Linked DNA regions of Homo sapiens: all the other regions are linked to region 3. Evidence: promoter capture Hi-C in 16 types of primary human blood cells and fetal thymus (Javierre and others, 2016). All regions are on one chromosome and are shown on one strand. The core of a region is centred on a gene start or on the middle of the fragment in contact, and the rest is flanking DNA. Distances in the headings are between cores, read along the strand shown. Region 1 overlaps ANKHD1-EIF4EBP3 (ANKHD1-EIF4EBP3 readthrough). Region 2 overlaps ANKHD1-EIF4EBP3 (ANKHD1-EIF4EBP3 readthrough). Region 3 holds the start of HARS2 (histidyl-tRNA synthetase 2, mitochondrial).

Region 1 (2,777 bases), core at 71-2,570, 180 kb before region 3:
GTATATTTCCATAGAAAAATCACTGCTATCTTTCCATTCTTTTTTTTTTTTTTTTTTTTTGAGACGGAGTCTTACTCTGTCACATAGGCTAGAATGCAGTGGCATGATCGCGGCTCACTGCAACCTCTGCCTCCCAGGTTCAAGTGATTCTCCTGCCTCAGCCTCCTGAGTAGCTGGGATTACAGGCATGCGTCACCACACCCGGCTAATTTTTGTATTTTTAGTAGAGATGGGGTGTCACCACGTTGGTCAGGCTGGTCTCAAACTCCTGACTTTGTGATCTGCCTGCCTCAGCCTCCCAAAGTGCTAGGATTACAGGCTCCCGACCTTATCTTTCCATTCTTTTGTGGCCAAATCTAAGATCTATGTGGTAGTTCACTATAAGCAACTTGGTTGTTAAATCACTTGGTGTCTTGACTATTTGTGATACATTGTTCATGAAACAGAAGATTTAAGAAAAACTATTATATGCAGATGGATTTTTTTGTGCCTAAAGAGGAACAAAAAGGAGTAGACTTTCATAAAAACTTACTGTATCTTCTGTGTGCGTGTGTGTGTGTGTGTGTGAGTATGAAACGGTCTCAGTCTGTCAACCAGGCTGGAGTGCAGTGGCATGATCATAGCTCACTATAGCCTCAACCTCCCAGGCTCAATTGATCCTCCCGCCTCAGCCTCCTGAGTAGCTGGGACCACAGGTGTCACTACCATGCTCAGATTTTTTTTATTTTTACTTTTTGTAGAGACGAGGTCTTGCTATGTTGCCCAGGCTGGTCTCAAACTCCTGGGCTCAGCGATTCTCCCACCTCTGCCTGCCAAAGTGCTGAGATATGGGCGTGAGCCATGCCTCTCATATATATTAAAGTTCATGCCCGGCCTCTCATATATATTAAAGTTCACTTATCTGCTGTATTTTTAAAAGCCTTCCCATTGGTATAGCTTCCCAAACTATAAACTACTTAGTAGGGCATGTAAAGACCTGCATAATAAGCTTCATGTCAACCTCCCCATACAAATCATTTATGCTACTATCCCCTTTTGCTCACTGTTTTCTAGTTACTGGCCTAGAATGCACTAAATTTTCAACTGCCTCAGGGCCTTTGCTCACTGATTTTCTTTTCCTGAAATGATTTCCTTTGCTGTTCACCTAGCTCACCTCTCTACTCATCTGTTAGCTCCAATTTTACATGTCAGTTCTCAAAGAGTATTTCTCTAACACCAAATCTGAAAAAGGTCCCTCTGTTTCTCTTTTATAGTTGAGTTTTGATTTTCCTTACCCCAATTTGTAATTATATCTTCAAACATGTACTTACCATTTTAATGCCTGTCTCGCCAACTAGACTGGTAGGTCCATGAGGACAAGAGTCATGACCATCTTTTTCAGCACTGTTTATATACCCAGTTGTTTAGCACAGTGCAATTTACATATAGTGAAATGCATGAATCTTAAGGTACATGGTTTAGTTTTGATAAACGTATACATACATGTAACCCATACCCCATAAACATATAAATTATTTCTGTAACCCTAGAAGGTTCCCTCTTGCCCACTTTTAGTCACTTCCCTGCCCCAGAGGCAAGCATTTCTCTGATTTGTATCTCCATCACACTAATTCTTAAGGATGTTTTAGAACCTTGGTAGGAAGGGAAACTATGCAAGCTTGGTTACATTAAAATAGATATGCTGGCCGGGTGCGGTGGCTCACGCCCATAATCCCAGCACTTTGGGAGGCCGAGTCAGGTGGATCACCTGAGGTCAGGAGTTCAAGACCAGCCTGGCCAACATGGTAAATCCCCGTCTCTACTAAAAATACAAAAATTAGCCAGGCGTGATGGTAGGCACCTGTAATCTCAGCTACTCCGGAGGCTGAGGCAGGAGAGTTGCTAGAACCCGGGAGGCGGAGGTTGCAGTGAGACAAGAGCGTGCCGTGGCACTCCAGCCGGGGCAACAACAGCGAGACTCCCATCTCAAAAAAAAAAAAAAAAAGATATGCTTAGAATTGATTACAGATCTTTCAACCCTTGATAATGGCATTTAGAAAGTGTTTTATTTAGATTCAAGTCCTAAGGCTCAGAAAGTTGTGATAGTCCACCTTGTTTAGTTAGTGAAGTAGAGGCAAAGTAAGACTTTGAAATTTAAAAAAAAATTACTTATTTTAGGACTCATTTCCCTTTTACACTGAGGTTCATTTTACATCACCAATGTTTGTTTAATAGATTTATTCTAGGAGATACTGTTTTTCTACAAAAGCTTTTTCTAATTTCAGTGGGATTAAATTCAGGAGAAATGTTGTCTAGTCCACCATCCATTCCTGAGCACACATTCTTGTCTTTTATGCCTTTCTTTTTATAAGCTGAATGCTGATCTTATTTTTATAATTTTAATTTTAAGCTTAATATTCTATTTGGAAGTATTTGCCTTTTTATTCTTAAATTGGTAGGCATATATGCAAAATCAAGGGATTCCTTTGTAATTCTGTTGTTTTACTTTCTTTTATTCTTAAGAATAATAATTTTTCTTTTCATGCTACCTTGTCTAAGATTGTTGTACTTCTTATAGGGTCATGTAAAAGTTGTTCAATATTTGGTAAAGGAAGTAAATCAGTTCCCTTCTGATATAGAATGCATGAGATACATAGCAACAATTACAGATAAGGTAAGTTTAATATGCTACTGAAGCACATTTTTGTTCTTTGTGGAATGATATGCCAAAGTGTGCAGTTAGGAACTTGTTCTTTTTATATTCTGAAAGGTTGGTCACCTGATCTCTTTATGCGTTT
Region 2 (2,700 bases), core at 100-2,599, 220 kb before region 3:
TTTTTTTTTTTGAGACAGAGTCTCGCCCTGTTGCCCAGGCTGGAGTGCAGTGGTGCTGCAATCTTGGCTCCCTGCAGCCTCTGCCTCCTGGGTTCAAGCGATTATCCTGCCCCAGCCTCCCAAGTAACTGGGATTACAGGCGCGTGCCACCGTGCCTACCTAATTTTTTGCATCTTTAGTAGAGACGGGGTTTCACCATGTTGGCTGGGCTGGTCTCGAACTCCTGACCTTGTGATCTACCCGCCTCGGCCTCCTAAAGTGCTGGGATTACAGGCGTGAGTCACCGTGCCTGGCCTAAGTTTCTTAATTCTAAACCCCTCTTAATCATGATGCTTATTAAGTGTCTTCATCATTGGCTTGTTAAATGAGAAGCTGTTTTATTTATTCTGTTGAGATTTTTAAAAATTTTTTAAATTTTTTTTTTTTGAGACAGGGTCTCACTCTGTTGCTCAGGCTGGAATGCAGTGGTGTGCTCTTGGCTCACTGCAGCCTTCCCATCCCAGGCTCAAGTGATCTTCCTGCCTCAGCCTCCCCAGTAGCTGGGACTAGAGGCATGTGCCACCATGCCCAACTAATTTTTTTCATTTTTATAGAGATGAGGTCTCACTGTACTGTCCAGGCTGGATATATTTATTCTACTTTGAAGTAAGTAAGTTTATTTTACAAAATGTGATGTGAACATGTGAGCTTCTACTCAGTTTGTATAATATTATAGGCTCCTATCAAGAATGTAAAGCTGAGTGTTATTTCAGATCAAAGTAATTGTTTTTCCCTGGATTTGTTAGATGAAATGTAATTGTAAATCTTTCTCTCTAGCTGCAAGTCTCAAAACAGGATTTTTTTAAAAATGAGTTTTGCAGCCCCACGTTTACAGGTTCAGATTCCATAGATCTGAAATAGGGGGTCTGCATTTGAACTAATATCTCAGGAGATTCTGATGACAAGTTCTCCATATTTTACACTTTGAGACATTGGTAGAGGCCATACAGATTATTCTGCATCATTGCTGAGTTCTTTTCTTTTTCCATCTTTGCTTTATAATCGATCATTTTTCCTCCATCCAAATTGAATAAACTTGGTTTTTCTCTCTGTTACTTGTGATTTTTAGAAAATGTGCTAAACACAAGCCTTAGGACCAGTGCCTCTTAACCTTTTATCCATATCAGTTCTCCTGAGGGGTATGAATCCAATCAGTAATAGTAGATCACTAAGGTAATGATTAATATACAGTGGTGGGTTGAAGGAACATACTCCCCATGGAAGAGTATTGGAATCCTCTAGTACGTACAGTATCAAACAGTCTCCCTCCTTTTCTCTGTGATTTTGGTCTTTCTCCTTAGAGAATGTCCTCCCTCCAACTCCAAAAGACATTGCCTCTGTGGTATAGTTACAGTCCTTAAATATATGTCTTGGGTGCCCTGTGGCTGTGATTTTTTAAGGGAAATTAACTTATTTTAAATAAAATAAACTTAATTTAAAATAAAATTTTGTTATCTAAAGCCAAATAGAAAAAATTCCACATTTTTTCTTACAGTGCTCATTCATCAGAACCTTTTTTTTTTCTTCTTTTTTTTTTTTTTTTTGGAGATGGTCTCACTTTGTCGCTCAGGCTAGAGTACAAAAGCGTGATTATAGCTCACTGCAGCTTTGAACTCCTGGGCTCATGGCATCCCCTTTCCTCAGCCTCCTGAGTAGCTAGGACTACAGGTATGCACCACAATGCCTGGCTAATTTTTAAATTTTTTTTCAGAGACAAAGTCTTGCTATCTTGCCCAGACTTGTAGTGTATTTTTTATAGATATATTTTTAGGGAGCTTATGAGCTCTAGTAATCTACTTATCAATGTATTTCAACTGTTAGTAATTACCTTACCTTAATAAACTTTAAATGTGACCTTACCTTCCACTTTTTAACTTTTTTATTAAGGAATAGCGTATATACATATTTTTAACTTTACTACTTAAAACTAGGAAACTTCTGTCAATTTCTTAAAAATCTAAAACTACCTATGGAATACACAAAACTCCTAATACATTTCTTTTAAAGCCAAGTTCTCTCTTTCTATGTTATTGTGTATTGAATGAGTTCTTTTCAGCTCTCTCCAGGTTGTTTAAATATAAGTACAAATGACTTCAGTCAAGAAGGTAAAGTCATTATTAGTATATAGAAAAATGAATCTAAAAATATGTAGTCGTGCCCCAAAACAACAGGATTAAAGATCTCCGTGGACTAGAAGTGCAGCATGGATCCACAGTTTAAGCTGTAGTCCCAAGGAGAATTAAGGGCTAAAAAAATACACAATGGGGGCTGAGATTTCAGCATGTGCAGAGGAATAGGGAATGAATGCATTTCACATGTAGTACATCAGTAGATCTAGTCTACTTGAATAAAGCAAGGAACCGGCATCTTATTGCCCTACCTGTGAACCAAAATGGATAAAAAAATATTTGATCAACTATCTAGGGTTATGGTTAGAAATTAGCAAATTGTCATATCCAGGTTGTATGTAAAAAACAAAACAAAACAAACCCAAAAAAACTAAAAAAAAGGGGGGAAAAATTAGCAAATTGTCGTTAATGGAAGAAACAGAGACAACTGTGTAACTAAAAACTTGGAGGACAACCTTCTTGATTTAGGGAACAGAAGTGAAATATCTCTATGAGACAAGAACCTTAGGTGTCCAGCAAAATATCTACTTCT
Region 3 (3,050 bases), core at 436-2,935:
TAACAAATATGTATGAAGTGCCAAGAGCACCTAGATGAAGGGGTAAACAGTTCTGTTTATAGAACTTACAGAAAGTGGAACTGAACTGGAGGATGAGCTCAGAATCTCCAACCTCATTCCACTCTACTCTCCTTAACTTAGTTCTAGCCATGTAGATCATCCTCTAGTTCCTCAAAACTACCAAAGTTCTTTCCCACTTTAGGGTTTCCATACTCTACCTGGACCTATCTTTGTCACACTTGTCCTCTGGCTATCTCCTACTCATTCATTAGATCAGTTAGTATATCACTTCCTCAGTTAGCCTTTCTCAGACTCCCCAGTTCTCCCTTATTTTTCTCAGAGCAACCTTAATTTCTTTATATCATTTTTCACAATATGTAATTACATAACCACATGTGGTGGCCGGGTGCGGTGGCACACGTCTGTAATCCCAGCACTTTGGGAGACTGAGGCGGGCAGATCACTTGAGGTCAGAAGTTCAAGACCATCCTGGCCAATATGGTGAAACCCCGTCTCTACTAAAAATACAAAAATTAGCTGGGCATGGTGGTGGGCACCTGTAGTCCCAGCTACTCAGGAGGCTGAAGCAGGAGAATCGCTTGAACCCAGGAGGCAGCGGCTGCAGTGAGCCAAGATGTGCCACTGCACTCCAGCCTGTGCAACAGAGGATACTCTGTTTAAAAAAAAAACAAAAAAATCTGTGTGGGATTATTTGTTCTAAGTCTCTCTCCTTCAGTAGAATGTAAGCTCCATGAGGGTAGGCTATATTGTCCACCATGGTATATATTCAGTGCTTTGTATAGTGCTAGAGACATAGCGCTAAATACACATTTATTGAATGAACGAAGGAGTAGCAGCAGCAGGCTGACTCCCCTGATCACCCAGCTGGCCTAGTTTCTGCCATCACTTTGCCATCCCAGAATGACTCAGGTAGAGTCCAGTCCAGCCCAGCGCCCAGAGCGACTGTCCTCTCCTCTGCAGCATTTCAGATCCTCCTCAATGACCTGGTTTAGGGAGGCAGACATAAGCGCCCCGTGAGTAGAGTTAGAGACTTTCTCAGTGGCTCCCTACAGGAATGATATTACCTTGGGGGTTTTGAGCACAAATTTCTGTTTGCTTTCATCAGGACCCAGCTGTGCCTTCAGTTTCAGGAGTTTCGCCACCTCCTCCTCGATCTGTGGAGGGAAAGAAGGCGCTGAGCTATCCATCTGTCACTCTCCTCCCTCCCCCGCCATTCATTCAATATTCCTCCCTCATCACATCTCTCTGCTCAGGCCTAGCTTTGTTTCTCTCGGGACCCACCCCGGATGTCTCCCCACGCAGCCCACTCTCCTCCCTACAAGACTGGTCGCTTCCCTCACATCTCTACCCTATGTCCCGAACACCCTGGCTTTACGTCCTCCCAGGCTTTGCCTTGGCCCTCTCCCCTGCTGCCTAAATCTCACCAGCTCGGCGCTGGCCTTCTGCTGCTTGAGGCCTCGCACGCGCTCTCCCTGAAGTTTCACCAGCTCCTCCAGCGCCGCACGCTCTGCCATCCCGGCTGTCCACTTGAGCCGCCTGCTGTCTCGACCTGCGGTGGTTGCCCCAGCCTCAGCAAGGATGACTTCCGGCTATCGAGTCGCTGGGTCGCACGCCTAGAGAGCCTCCGCCGAGCACAAAAATTATTTCCGGCTCCTCCCGGAAGTGCCGAAGCTGGCTACTAAGGGAACTTGGGAGGATCCCACCTCAGCCTTCGTGACTAGTGAGGTGCGCAAACGCCCGAGTTTTCCCTGGTGCGCGGGTTCCGCCTTTGCAGTGCCCTCCACCCTTCCTGGTGTCTGACCCGCCTCCTTCCCAGGCCTTTTGTTCCTGTCCCGGAAAGCCGGCGTCCTGCCGCGCGATGCCCCTGCTCGGACTTCTTCCCAGGAGGGCCTGGGCTTCGCTGCTCAGCCAGCTCCTGCGACCGCCCTGCGCTTCGTGCACCGGGGCGGTCCGTTGCCAAAGCCAGGTGAGCGAGACAGAATTATCTCTGGTCTGTCCCAGCAGGGTCTCCAGATCTGAACGCATAGCCTCGCGGCCTGTATTCCAGTAGTGTTACAATCGGTTTTTATCGAGTGCCCACTATGTACTGACACTGAACTAAGCGATTTGGATGCCTGGTCATTTAATCCTTGGAGCAATCTTGAGAGGTTGGAGTTTTGATTTCCATTCTGCAGTTGAGGAAACGGAGGCTGCAAGATTAAATGAATGACTTATACACGGATATGTAGTAAGGGAGTATTTTAATTCATATCCACACTTTTTCCTGAAACTCTTGGACTCAAACAGTAACATTTTTAAGCGAAATATATGAATATTCCTAGTAAATGAGATGACTAAAGATCAGAAGTAGACTGAGTTCATCTTAGAATTTACCTCAAAATGAATCTCAGAAAAACATTTTCAGATGTCAGAGAGTTTTGGATTTTGGAATTGCAGATAAGGGATTGTGTACTTGAACTTGGACTTCTCTTAGGGCAGATAATCGCCATAGTATGGAACCACCACATCCTCTATTTTTGGAAGGGCATACAGCGTGCTGGTAATGTCACTGATTAAGTTTTGCCTTACTTCGGAAAGATTCTAATGCTCTCTTAGCAGATGCTTTGTGCTATCGTGAACAATAGGGCACAGATCTTTTATTGATATTCAATCACAGCATCTTATCAGTCTGAGTTTTTTAGCTCATTCAAGAAATCCATATCTTATCATTCCACAGGCTTGTTCTGTGTCCTTGAGCTGGTTCCCTTGTCTTCAAGTTACAGTTTTCCTCTCTCTAAACCTGATAACCAGTGCTACCTTATTAAAAATTATTATTTTTTTGTCCGGGCACAGTGGCTCATGCCTGTAATCCCATCACTTTGGGAGGCCAAGGGGGGTGGATCACCTGAGGTCAGGAGTTTGAGACCAGCCTGACCTGTATGGCGAAACCCCGTATCTACTAAAAATACAAAAATTAGCCGGGCGTGGTGGCATGTGCCTGTAATCCCAGCTACTCGGGAGGCAGAGACAGGAGAATCGCTTGAACCCGG

The links. The method cuts DNA at HindIII sites, captures the fragments that hold promoters and counts their contacts. A CHiCAGO score of 5 or more calls a contact.
Region 1: a contact is called between a fragment that was not itself captured here and the fragment with the promoter of HARS2 in region 3, in 1 of 17 cell types (M1 macrophages). The highest score is 5.3, in M1 macrophages.
Region 2: a fragment that was not itself captured here is called in contact with the fragment with the promoter of HARS2 in region 3 in 2 of 17 cell types (M2 macrophages and monocytes); the score reaches 7.3 in M2 macrophages.

The regions. Positions count from the first base shown.
Region 1 is chr5:140,510,271-140,513,047 of GRCh38, forward strand. It overlaps ANKHD1-EIF4EBP3 (ANKHD1-EIF4EBP3 readthrough), which reads left to right. Exons shown (of 36, transcript NM_020690.6): 23 at 2,558-2,653. It overlaps ANKHD1 (ankyrin repeat and KH domain containing 1), which reads left to right. Exons shown (of 34, transcript NM_017747.3): 23 at 2,558-2,653. Among named protein-coding and RNA genes, the nearest start is that of EIF4EBP3, 36 kb to the right of the region's middle. The HindIII fragment of the contact is 669 bases long and covers 987-1,655 here.
Region 2 is chr5:140,473,033-140,475,732 of GRCh38, forward strand. All of the region lies in intron 10 of ANKHD1-EIF4EBP3 (ANKHD1-EIF4EBP3 readthrough), which reads left to right. All of the region lies in intron 10 of ANKHD1 (ankyrin repeat and KH domain containing 1), which reads left to right. Among named protein-coding and RNA genes, the nearest start is that of ANKHD1-EIF4EBP3, 73 kb to the left of the region's middle. The HindIII fragment of the contact is 5,450 bases long and covers 1-2,700 here.
Region 3 is chr5:140,689,770-140,692,819 of GRCh38, forward strand. It overlaps HARS2 (histidyl-tRNA synthetase 2, mitochondrial), which reads left to right and starts at 1,686. Exons shown (of 13, transcript NM_012208.4): 1 at 1,686-1,987. The coding sequence starts at 1,880. HARS1 (histidyl-tRNA synthetase 1) reads right to left here and starts at 1,601. Exons shown (of 13, transcript NM_002109.6): 1 at 1,446-1,601; 2 at 1,086-1,175. The coding sequence starts at 1,535. RefSeq lists enhancers at 1,308-1,537, 1,698-1,787, 1,868-1,937 and promoters at 1,536-1,986, 1,536-1,657, 1,629-1,655, 1,720-2,036. The HindIII fragment of the contact is 4,332 bases long and covers 1-3,050 here.